2 separate regions of the Homo sapiens genome follow, and region 1 is linked to region 2. The links are contacts of gene promoters, found by promoter capture Hi-C in blood cells and fetal thymus (Javierre and others, 2016). All regions are on one chromosome and are shown on one strand. Each heading gives the region's core, a stretch centred on a gene start or on the middle of the fragment in contact. The rest is flanking DNA. Distances are from core to core; before and after follow the strand shown. Region 1 holds the start of LOC101927522 (a long non-coding RNA gene). Region 2 holds the start of ZNF792 (zinc finger protein 792).

Region 1 (5,995 bases), core at 2,888-5,387, 470 kb before region 2:
ACTTCTTTGGTGGCCCCTGGAAGTCCTGTGCATCCCACAGAGGAGGACATGGGGGACAGGTCAGGGTGTGAGATGGTGTCAACTGCTTCCTGCAGGGTGTGTCTGTGTGGTTACCAGGCTTCTTGCCAGTGGTCTTCACTCTTTCCCTGAAACCATGAAGGAGTAACCTTCAACCCCAGACTCCCAAGACCCAGGCAACTCCCAGCCTTCCACATGTCCTCGTTCCTGCCATAGCCCCAGATCCCAGATGCTGCAATCTGTCGTCAGTCCCCACTCCCTGTCTCTAAACATTCTGGATACACAGGAAGTAGAGGGAAGATTCTATTTACTGTTTCTGTCTACCGTTTACCAAGTTGTTTGCTTTCATGGTTTCCATGAATGCTTATAAGACTCTGGATTTGATTGTGAAACAGAATGAAGAGCTTGGGAGGAGGAATGTTTATTCCAGGAATCCTGGAGAGGTTGCCTGACCTTTTCCTCCTTCCCCGAGCCCCCTTCTCCATCTGCTGTCCGTGCAGAGGTGACCACTGGACTAGACACAGGACTAAAAAGCCCTCCCCCTGCCGCTTCCGGGCCAGACCCCTGGGTAGCTAGCGCGGGTTCACACCACCCTTGATAAGGGCCAGAAGGCAGCTGGTCGTTTCCTTGGGCTGATTTTCAGTGCTGACCCTGAGCCAGGGAGGAGAGGCAGCAGAGTGTCTGGAGGCGGAAACTTGCAGTCAGGTGCTGGCTGATCCTGCAAAAGACACACCAGATGGGGGGCAAAACTAGTTGCTCTGTGTTCCTTTCCCCAGCCCAACCTTGTCTCTGTTTTCCTCCATTACCTGCTTCTGCCACATACATGACTCATCTTCCCCTAAGAGTTGTGGTATCGCTGGAGTCACCAGGGTTTCTGTCTGCTTTGCAGAATCTTAGGAAACTTAAATTAGACGGCAGATTTTCAGGAAGTGCAGGGAGGATATCAGAAACTCCCGGGTGTCACACCCGGGGAGTTGGCAGCACGTTTCAAAATGCTTGGAAATTTTCCAAGAGAGAGAGAAAAGCCCTGGTTTTCTTAATGCAAACCAGAAAGTAAAGTTTCTGTTTATCAGAAGTGGGAAGTGGTTAAAAATAGATTGAGAAACAGTGATGCAGTGGACATAACACTCTAAGACCCGCTCTTGGTAAAGTTTACGTGAACTGAGATCCTCTTCACGTTGAGCCATCTTCCCTGAGCCTTTTCCAATGCCAGAAGAATTCAGATTCCATAGGAAGCAGGGAAGACTGCTCTCAGGAGAAGGTGGGAGGGGAGAATGTAGTCTTAATTTTGGGAATGTCTTGGGGATTCCTTCCCCCACTTTTTTTTTTCCTTGAGCCCTTGCTACTTGATGATATGAAGCCACAGTGAATTAGCACCCAGAAGCCTTCCCTTCTGTCTCTAGAAGTCTTTGCCATTTATGAAGATAAAACCCTTATATCTCATTTGAGGACTGTCAAATATGCCCAAATAACAGAGACTTAAACACATAGAGGTTTATTTTTCTCATGGGACATGAAGGAATTAGGGAACCCATGTCCACGGCTGCTGCTCAGGATCACTCATCCATCCACAGCCTGGGGTCCTCTGGCTATCTGTTTCACTATCCCCAGATCTTGGCTTTCGCTTCATGGTCCTAAGAAGCATCTACATTCTGAGCAGAAAAACAGGGGGCAGGGAGGACAGAGAGCAAAAGACGTATGAGAGATGGATCTATCCCTTTTTCAAGCAGGAAAATGACAACTTTTCTAGATGCAGTGGCTCACGCCTGTAATTCCAGCACTTTGAGAGGCCGAGGCAAGAGGATCGCTTGAGGCCAAGGGTTCGAGACCTGCCTGGGCAACAGAGTGAGACCCCCTATCTCTACAAAAAATAAAAAAAAAATCTAGTTGGGTGTGGTGGTGCACTCTTATAGTTCCAGCTACTTGGGAGGCTGAGGTGGGAGGATCGCTTGAGCCTGGGAATGGGAGGCTGCAGTGAGCTGTGATGGCACCACTGTACTCCAGCCTGGGCCACACAGCGAGACCTTGTCTCTAAAGAAGGAAAAAGGAAAATGATAGCTTTTCTGGAAGCCCTACCCAGCAGATGTGTACTTATTTCCAACTGGCTGACATTGTATCTCATGGCAATTCCTAGCCGCAAGAGAGTTTGGGCAAATGAGTATTAATTGGGCACTTCCCGAACCTAACAAAATTGGGACCCTGTTGGCAAGGAAAAAGGGGAGAGTTCCAAAATTATACAGATCTTGAATAGCAAATATGGGGAGCAAAACCAATTATAAGCCTAAAATATCTATGGTAGCCATAGGAAGATGTGGGATTTTAGAGGGGGCTTTTATCAATTGTGTTATTAACAGGTAACATACATACAAAAAGGTGAGCTCAACTTAGGGATACAGCTGGATGCATGTTAACATATCTGTACATTTGTGTATGACCACCCAGGTTGAGATGCAGGCCATTTTCAGCACCCTAGAGGCCCTTTTATTCCCTCTCAGTCAGCAAACCTTCCACTCCTAAGATAACCACTTTTCCAGCTTCTACCTCTTTTTTTTATCTATTTATTTTATTTATTTATTTATTTATTTATTTTTGTGAGACAGGGTCTCTGTAGAGTGAGTGCTCATATGAGCACTCCCAGGCTGGAGTGCAGTGGTGCGATCTTGGCTCACTACAACCTCTGCCTCCCGGTTTCAAGCAATTCTTCTGCTTCTGCCTCCCGAGTAGCTGGGGTTACAGGCGCATGCCAACACACCCAGCTAATTTTTATATTTTTAGTAGAGATGGGGTTTCGCCATGTTGGACAGGCTGATCTCAAACTCCTGACCTCAAGTGATCTGCCCACCTCCGCCTCCCAAAGTGCTGGGATTACAGGCATGAGCCACCATGCTCGGCCTTGTTTCTATTTTCTTTGACACAAGCACTGTTTATCTTCCAGTGTAAGAACGCAATCAACCATAGCACTGTGGGATAGCAGCCAGGAGGCTGGCTGTATCCTGCTGCAGCAGCCACCACACATGGAGGGCGGAGGGACAGCCACCCTGTTGTGTAGCTCGGAGCAGCTGTGTCCTTCAGTGCAGGTCCAGCCAAGAGCCGTGGGCCACAGATGACGCTGGTGGGGAAGCAGAGGGCAGACTAGGCAGAGGCAAGGCTTTCCTGTGCCCTGAGCTGTCAGAGATGGGCCAGGGCCTTCAGCTTCCTCGATAGGGCAGAAGTGACCACGCTGGCTCCATTCAGCAAAGGACGTGGACGGAGCTGCCGGGCTTGTCTGAGAGGAGGAGAAATGTGGAATTGAGTGAGGCTCTCTAAGAAGGTTCTGCTGGAGTTGAGAAAAATTAGGGTGAGGCACCTCCCCGATTTTATGTCCTTTTTCCTGGGTCCAGCCTCCTGAACAGCTACCATTCGCTTCTGTGAGACACCTGTCGGTGCCTCCTTTTCCAGCCCTTAATGGAACGGTGAGTGAGGTTCCCTGACTGGGGTGGAGTCTGCTTGTGAGTTTCCCCATCCCATGTCTCTCTGACTCCTGCTCCAACTCCTTACTTCGCCAGTTCCTCTCCCAGCCACCTCAGACTTCCCATACCACCCTCCCTGGACAGGAAGCGTTTTTACAGGAGTTTGAAGCTTCAGGAGTGCCCTCCGGCCACATGAAGACAAGGCGCTAACAAACATGGCGTTCTGCAAATTGCACCATCGCCAACTCCTGTCTTACTCTCACAGAGGTCTCTTGGGCTCTTCTGAGAAGGGTGAATGAACTTGGTTGGAGGGAAGAGAGGGGTTTGGTGGCTCTTAGTAAAATTGCTTCACGCAGTGACCTTTGGCAGTTTAGGATAATAACCTGTGCAGAGAGAGGGTCTCCTGTCCTGAAGTCACAGCCCGGATCTCCAGGCTGGCTCTGCTGCCTCTGAATGATTTGTGGGTCACACACGCCAACAGCATCGCCAAGGGCTGACATCAGCCTGCTTGAGCCACGGAAACTGAATGGGCAAGGATGAGTTCCCCAGCACAGAGGGAGGCATCCTCTGTCAAGACCATCTGCGCATGTGCTGTGCAGTCTCCAGTCTGCACTGTGAGGTTAGTACTTCTTCCTCTCTCTAGAAAGTGTAATGGGGGCCAGGCATGATGGCCCACACCTGTAATCCTAGCACTTTGCGAGGCTGAGGTGGGCGGATTGCCTGAGCTCAGGAGTTTGAGACCACCCTGGGCAACATGGTGAAACCCTGTCTGTACTAAAATACAAAAAAATTTAGCTGGGTGTGGTGGCGGGCATGTGTAATCCCAGTGACTCAGGAGGCTGAGGCAGGAGAATCGCTTGAACCCGGGAGGCAAAGGTTGCAGTGAGCCGAGATCATGCCACTGTACTCTAGCCTGGGCAAAAGAGCGAGACTGGCTCAAAAGAAAGCATAACAGAATACTCATAACTGACAGTGACGTTGTAACAGCTTACCTTATATCCTCTCATTTCTTTGTTTACTTAAACTTCCAAAGCCTAGTTTTTTCAGTATTACCAGGAACCATGGACTTACATTTCTTGCCTCTTGGTGTGTTGCCACATCCCAGCAGTGTGTCTCAACGGCTTTTGAGAACTGCTTCGAGAGGGGACCAGATGCGCAGAGACAAGCTTCCAGCCTGGCTAGGGACGGACCCTCTGGGGATGCTCCTCTCTGGCCGGGCAGCAGTAGAAGCACCTGCCTCCATCCACATCCAGACGCCATTCCCTTTTCTTCACCGCTGCTTCCCATCAGATGGTCCCCAGGAGTGGCAACCTCCCACTTGGTCTCGCAGGAGTCCCAGTGCTTCTCAGGTGTGTGTGCCACATCCCTCTTCTCTGAACACACAGTGGTCAGGGTGCCTGCACAGGGAAGGGCACCACAGTCCACCCTGGGAAAGGTCTTCAGTCTTCGGGAAAGAGCCTGTAAGCACCTTGACTGCTCTTCTTCTCTAGGGCAGAGAGCTTTCTTATCCACAGGGGTCCTTAGTCAGAGAGAGGGAGCGCACTCGGTGAGCTCTTTCAGAGGCAGCAGAGCCCTCTGCCTCTCCCCAAATCCCTGCTCCTACAAGTCGAATTAATCTCTCCTAGAAATCCAAGTCCTAACTTCTTCCAGGCGTCTTTTTACATCCACTGTTTGCATAGCCCACCCTTTCTTCTTTGGAGGATCCCCTCAGGTAACTTCCATCTGCTCCTCAGTGTGTCTTACCCCTTCCTTCTGTTCTTTCTTCACCTCCCTCCCTCTCCACCTCCACACTGGACTATATCAAATTCCTGTTCATTTTTTAGCATGGCCCAGTCAAAGCAGGTTAATCTCTCAGTCAGCAGAGGACATTTCACAAAAATTGGGGCCGCTAAATCACAAAAATATTCTCTAAGTCCAGGGCCAGCCCAGAAAAAATGCCCCAAGTCCAGGCAGCCCCCCAGAGTCTGCCGCCGTCTGGAAAATCCGGCTCAGCTCTTGCTCCTGCACATCCTCTCCTTTCCAGTGCTCTGTGTCTGGTCCCTGTCCCACCTCCTCTCCTTTCCCCAGTGTCTTCTGTCTGAATTCTGTGGGCCCAGGACAGCCCCAGCCTTCTCAAAGTCACCTGCATGTCTCTTGGATTAGGCAGCTGAGTGCAAGGTAACAACCAGATCATGCATTTTCATCTCTCCATGGATGGTTGGGGATAGAGCATCACAAGACAGGCATTGTGGCTGGGTGTGTTGGCTCATGCCTATGATCCCAGCACTTGGTGGGAGACCAAGGCAGGTGGATTGCTTGAGCTCAGGAGTTCAAGACCAGCCTGGGTAACATGGTGACACCTGATCTCTACAAAAAAATACAAAAATTAGCCAGATGTGGTAGTGCATGCCTTTAGTTCCAGCTACTCAGGAAGCTGAGGTCAGAGGATCACTTGAGCCCAGGAGATCAAAGCTGCAGTGAGCCTAGATTGTGCCACTGCACTCTAGCCTGTGGGACAGAGTGAGACCCTGATTTTTTTTTTTTTTAAA
Region 2 (6,410 bases), core at 3,665-6,164:
AGGAATTGAAATTGGTATGTCAAAAAGATATCTGCACTGCCATATTCATTGCAGCAATGTTCACAATAGTCAAGCGACTGAAGTGCTCATCAACAGATAAACGGATTTGTACAATGTGGTAGAGATACACAACTGAATACTATTTGGTCATAAAAGAGAAGAAAATCCTGTCAATTGGGACAACAAGGTTGAACCGGAGGACATTATATTAAGTGAAATAAGTCAGGCACAGAGGACAAATACTACATAATCCCACTCATATATGGAACCTAAAAAAGTTGTCTCATAGAAATAGAGTGAAATGTTGGTTACCAGAGGCTGAGGTTGCCAGGTGGTGGGAGTGGGGCAATGTTGGTCAAAGGATATAAAATTTCAGGTAGCTAGGAGGAATAAGTTCAAGAGATCTATTGTACAACCTGGTGACTGTAGTTACGGTGTATTCTTGACAAATGCTTAAAGAGTAGATTTTAAGTCTTCTCAACACAAAAAAGATAACTAAGGCTGGTGCCATGGCTCACACCAGTAATCGCAGCACTTTGGGAGACCAAGGCAAGGAGGAGTGCTTGAGCCCAGGAGTTTGAGACCAGCCTAGACAACATGGTGAAACTCCATCTCTGCAGAAGATACAAAAAACTAGCTGGGTGTTGTGGTGCACGTCTGTAGTCTCAACTTCTCGGGAGGCTGAAGTGGGAGGATGGCTTGAGCTCAAGAGGTCAAGGCTGCTGTGAGCCACGATAGTGCCACCGTACTCCAGCCTGGGTGAGAGAATGAGACCCTGTCTCAAAACAAAACAATGTGAAGTGATGCATATGTTAATGAGCTTGATTTAGTCATTCTGAAGCAGGATATTTCCCTGACCCCTTCTTGGATGGGAACTAGAGTACATGGGCGCTGTCAGGGACGAACTCCACTCGCTTGTTGTTCCACCCCTCATGGGGAGGGGAGCACAGGTGAGTGGGTGCAGGAGACAGGGTGAGGGCTTTTGGGTGCTGGCAAGAGCAAATTCCATACTAGCCCCACGGCAGTGTCTAGGGGAAGGTGCTGTGACCCCTGAAGCCCCTGACGAAGTGTTACAGTGCCCTTTTAGCTTTGCCATCCATGCATAGCTTAAGTGTTAACAGCTCAGTGGAGGGTCAGTGCGACAGCCTTTTGTACCCACACTCATGGCACCCAAGTTTTTGTCTGGCATCCAGGAGGAATGAGGTCACACAAACAAATTGAAGATGGTAAATGCAGGGGATTTTATTGCCGGTGAAAGTGGCTCTCAGCAGGAAGAGGAGCTGAAAAGGGGATGGAGCAGGAAGGTAATCGTCCCCTGAAGTTTGGCCATCCCTGGCCATCCTCTCCAAAGCTACGCTGTCAAGCTGTCCCTTTGAAGTCAGCCTGCTTCTCTCCAACATCCAACCATAGTCTCCAATGTCCAGCTGCTTTTCTTCTCTCTGCCGGCTGAGCCTGGGGTTTTTATGGGCATAGGATGGGGGGCAGGGTGAGCCACGGGTGGTTTTGGAAAAGGCAACATTTGAGTGGGAAAACAGGGATGTAAGTTCTCACTTTGGGCCGTGGTATCAAGATTTTCAGCTTGATGGACCTGGCCTCTTCTGCCCAGAATTTCCCTACCTCCTGTCCCTATCAATTCCACAATGTATCTATATTTCAAAACATCATGTTGCATACAATAATTATATATTATTTTATAAATTTAGAAAAACAAAAAAATGCAGCTATAAGAAAATAATAAAATAAAATCAAGTAGGCAAATGTTACTATGGTGTGCTTTCATGTAAAAATCATAACTATTCCCTCTGAGGCGGTACTTGCTGAGTTAGAGTCATTGTATATTTTGACAAACATCCAAAAGACTGCACAGAGGTGTCTCTTCCCTGCCGCCCCACAGCAGTGTTTGTAAGATTCTTGTGATGATGGTGTTGGTAATGACAATAGCTTTTATGCACCCAGCAGGAATTCTGTCCTGGGCCCTGTTATCTACCATTGTAACCACCCAATGGGTTCTTTTTGCCTGCTACAAAAAGACCACGGCATTGCAGTAAACAAAGTCTTTAACTGACACAGGGCCAGCCATGCCATGGGAGAAACAGAGTTATTACTCAACTTGATCTCCCTGAAAATTCAGTGATCAGAGGTTTTCAGGGATAATTTGGTGGGTGGGGGGCCAGGTAGTGGGGAGTGCTGATTAGTTGGGTTAGAGATGAAATCACAGGGAGTCAAAGTTGACTAACTGCACTGAGTAAATTCCAGGGTGGGGACCACAGGACCAGATGACCCAGTTTATCAATCTGGGTGGCACTAGCTGATCCATCGAGTGCTGGGTCTGAAAAATATCTCGAGCACCAATCTTAGGTTTTACAATAGTGATGTTATCCCCAGTAGCAATTGGGAAGGTTTAAAATCTTGTGACCCCTGGCCCCTGGCTGCATGACTCCTAAACCATACTCTCTAATCTTGTGGCTTTTGTTAATCCTACAAAGGCAGTCTGGTCCCCAGACAAGAAGAGGGTTTGTTTCAGGAAAGGGCTGGGTTTTTTTGTTTGTTTTTGTTTTTGAGATGGAGTCTCGCTCTGTTGCCCGGGCTGGAGGCGATCTCAGCTCACTGCAAGCTCTACCTCCCGGGGTTCATGCCATTCTCCTGCCTCAGCCTCCTGAGTAGCTGGGACTACAGGTGCCCGCCACCACACCTGGCTAATTTTTTGTATTTTTAGTAGAGACAGGGTTTCACCATGTTAGCCAGAATGGTCTCGATCTCCTGAACTCGTGATCCGCCTGCCTCGGCCTGCCAAAGTGCTGGGATTACAGGGGTGAACCACCATGCCCGGCCTAGAGGGAAAGGGCTGTTATCTTTGCTTCAAAGTTAAACTGTAAACTGAGTTTCTCCCAAAGTTAGTTAGGCCTATGCTCAGGAACGAACAAGGACAGCTTGGAGGTTAGAAGCAAGATGGAGTTGGTTAGGTCAGATCTCTCACTGTCATAATTTTCTCAGTTATAATTTTTACAAAGGTGGTTTCACCATATGACATGTAGTATCGGGGGAACCCACCCCCGATAATTCAATGTGGGTTCTTTTCTATTTTCCCTAAGTGTCGGCTGGTCTGAGAAATAAAGGGAAAGAGTACAAAAGAGATAAATTTTAAAGCTGGGTGTCTGGGGGAGACATCACATGTCAGCAGGTTCCGTGATGCCCCCGAGCCATAAAACCAGCAAGTTTTTATTGGCAATTTTCAAAGGGGAGGGAGTGTACGAATAGGGTGTGGGTCACAGAGATCACATGCTTTAAGGGCAACAAAAGATCACAAGGCAGAAGGTCAGGGCGAGATCACAAGGTCAGGGCAAAACTAGAATCACTCATGAGCTTCCATGTCCTGCTGTGCACGCATTGTCATTTATAAACATCTTAACAGGGTTCAAGAGCAGAGAACTGGTCTGACTAGAGTTCGCCAGGCTGGAATTTCCTAATCCTAGCAAGCCTGGGGGCGCTGCAGGAGACTAGGGTGTGTTTCATCCCTATCTACATGTGCATAAGGCAGACACTCCCAGGGCAGCCATTTTAGAGGCACTGCCCTGGGAATGCATTATTTTCCCAGGGCTGTTAATTATTAATATTCCTTACTGGGGAAAGAATTCAGCGATATTTCTCTTACCCGTTTTTGGTAATAGGAGAAATATGGCTCTGTCCTGCCCGTCCCACAGGCAGCCAGACTTTAAGGTTATCTCCCTTGTTCCCTGAAAATCGCTGTTATCCTGTTCTTAAGGTGCCCAGATTTCATATTGTTCAAACACACATGCCCTACAAACAATCTGTGCAGTTAACGCAATCATCACAGGGTCCTGAGATGACATACATCCTCAGCTTACGAAGATGACAGGATTAAGAGATTAAAGTAAAGTCAGGCATAGGAAATCACAAGAGTATTGATTGGGGAAGCGATACATGTCCATGAAATCTTCACAATTTATGTTCAGAGATTGCAGTAAAGACAGGCATAAGAAATTATAAAAGTATTAATTTGGGGAACTAATAAATGTCCATGAAATCTTCACAATTAATGTTCTTCTGTCACGGCTTCAGCAGGTCCCTCCGTTCGGGGTCCCTGACTTCCTGCAACAATGTAGTGTTATTTTTCCCATTTTATTTACTGGATTTCAATGAGAGTCCCTGCTGTAAAGTTGGAGCCAGCATTGGAGTCCCCAGAGGGCTTGTTAAAACAGAGAAGGAGGCCTGGCACCATGGCTCACTCCTGCAATTCCCAACACTTTGGGAGGCCGAGGTGAGAGGATCACTTGAGCTCAGGAGTTTGAGACCAGCCTAGGCATCACAGGGAGATCCAGTCTCTACAAAAAATTTTAAAATTAGCTGTGTATGATGGTGCACGCCTGTATCCCATCTACCTGGTAGGCTGAGGCAGGAGGATAGCTTGAGCCCGAGATGGAGGCTGCAGTGAGCTATGATCAGGCCACTGCACTCCAGCCTGGACAACAGAACGAGACCCATCCCCCCCGCCCCCCCCGCAAAAAGTAGAGAAGGCTGAATCCCATCCCCAGAATTTCTGAGTCCTTAGATTTAAGTTGTTGCCCCAGAACCTGCATTTTCAGCCAGTCCCCAGGTGATGCTGATGTTGCTGGTTTGAGAAGCCCTGAATCAGAGCGACATTTAATATTACAACGCAAAGACCCCGCCCATTGGGTACTATCCCCATTTTCCAGTGTGAATTTAGGTCCCTTAGGGGTGAAGCGGCTGGCCGATGCCCACACGCGCAGGAAGAGCACTGGGGCTCTCCTCCTGGACCTCGGAGGGTGGGCGGGGTTTAGCGCGGGCGGCTGCAGGCTCGGGAGCGGCCCCTTTAAGGGGAAGGCCCGAGGGCTGCAGGCGGCGGCGGTGGAGACCCGACGAGATCCGCTCTCCTTCCCGCCCTGGACCCTCAGCCTGACGAGAGGCTGGGCAGAAACTCGCGATCCCCAGGCCCTGCCTGTGCACCAGCGGCTGGCGCCAGGCCAATGACAGTACGGGAGAGGGCAACTCTCCCGGCCGCCACGGTGGGGGCCGGAACTTCCTGCACTGCAGCCTCGCAGGTCATTTCCCGGCGGGGAGGCTGAGTCCCCAGGAGCTGGGGACCCCGAGTTGGGGGCGGGGCGGCTGGGGCTACGCCCGTGAAGCTGCCCCGCCGGCTTTCCCGGACCGCGAGGGGGACAGTGAGGCCGGGACCCCCTCCGCGCCTTTGCACCAGCCGTGACCCCTTGCAACGGGGGTACCCAGCGGAGCTGCGCGCTCTCGGCGCCCCCGGAGCCTGCGCCCCGGGCCCCTTGCGCATTTTGCACGGGGGAGACTGAGGCTAGGAGTGCGACCCTCAGCCCGGGGTCACACCTCGTCTGGGGCACGGCCAGGTGGGTGGTAGCCTCAGCCTGCGAGACCCCCTACCCCCGCCCCGTGGTTTCCCGCACCGTGGGGCCCTGCTCTGACCACAGACTCCGATGGCAGCGGCGGCGCTGCGGGACCCCGCGCAGGTGAGTGCTTGGACGTTAGGCCCTTCGCTGTCGGCCCCCCACGCTTCTGTTCTCGGTGTTGAGACGCAAAAGATGGCTTTGTTCTAGGACTTTTCGCCTTTCCCATTTCCTTGCTTTTGAGTCAGGGGACCCTGGAAGGGAGTTGCTCCCAGCTAGGATCCTGAATCAGGGCAGGGTTTATATAAAGTGGCTTCCGTTGCTGAAATGTAATGGGATGGAGGGAGAAAGGGCTTTGTAGGCACAGGAACCAGCGTGCGCAAAAGCTTGGGGGTGGGGTGGGGCACGGTGTGGAGACTGAGTTGGGAGTGTTCAAGGAACCCCACCCAGGTCAGTGTTATTAATATTATGTCTGCTGGAACCAGAGAGCAGGTGGGCTGAAGACAGCTCAGAACGGCAGAGCTGGGCCTCTGTTCTGAGGGTGTTGGGAGCCATGGAAGGTTTAGGGCAGAGGAGGAAGATGCTGTGACTCAGGTCTTAACAGGCTCCCTGTGGATGCACAGTGGAGAACTGAATATGGAGTGAGCCGCAAGCAGGGATGCCAAGGAGTAGCCTAATGGAATAGCCCAGGCCAGTGCTGCGGCTGGCCGGACCAGAGTGAGGACTGGAGGTAGAGGAAGTGATTGGGAACTTGATGTCTTTTAAGTCAAGCTGACCAAATTTTCCGATGTGGAGGGTGAGAAAGAGGAGGGAAGAATCCATGGTTTTTGGTTTGATGAATCCAGCTTTATGAACTGAGAAGTTGGTTTTAGGAGGAATTTTCCATGGAAGCAGTAGAAGTTAGGTTTTGGCCAAGTTGAGCCTGTGATGTCCCAGAGACCCCCAAATGGAGTTGAAGAGTGGGCCGCTGAACACACAGTTCGGGTGTTCTGAGGGAGTTGTTAAGGTAATGAGAGACTG

What was found. Contacts are between HindIII fragments. The CHiCAGO score rates a contact against its expected background, and 5 or more counts as called.
Region 1: a fragment that was not itself captured here is called in contact with the fragment with the promoter of ZNF792 in region 2 in 4 of 17 cell types (total B cells, total CD8 T cells, naive CD8 T cells and 1 more); the score reaches 8.3 in total B cells.

Annotation. Positions count from the first base shown.
Region 1 is chr19:35,431,680-35,437,674 of GRCh38, reverse strand. It overlaps LOC101927522 (a long non-coding RNA gene), which reads left to right and starts at 3,022. Exons shown (of 7, transcript NR_187751.1): 1 at 3,022-3,355; 2 at 3,837-4,086; 3 at 4,573-4,816. RefSeq lists enhancers at 1-168, 169-1,132, 3,582-4,781 and a silencer at 754-1,048. The HindIII fragment of the contact is 997 bases long and covers 3,639-4,635 here.
Region 2 is chr19:34,962,733-34,969,142 of GRCh38, reverse strand. ZNF792 (zinc finger protein 792) reads left to right here and starts at 4,914. Exons shown (of 4, transcript NM_175872.5): 1 at 4,914-5,513. The coding sequence starts at 5,481. LOC124904699 (a long non-coding RNA gene) reads right to left here and starts at 5,717. Exons shown (of 2, transcript XR_007067236.1): 1 at 5,470-5,717; 2 at 1,223-1,452. RefSeq lists silencers at 5,153-5,412, 5,523-5,572. The HindIII fragment of the contact is 6,406 bases long and covers 1-5,778 here.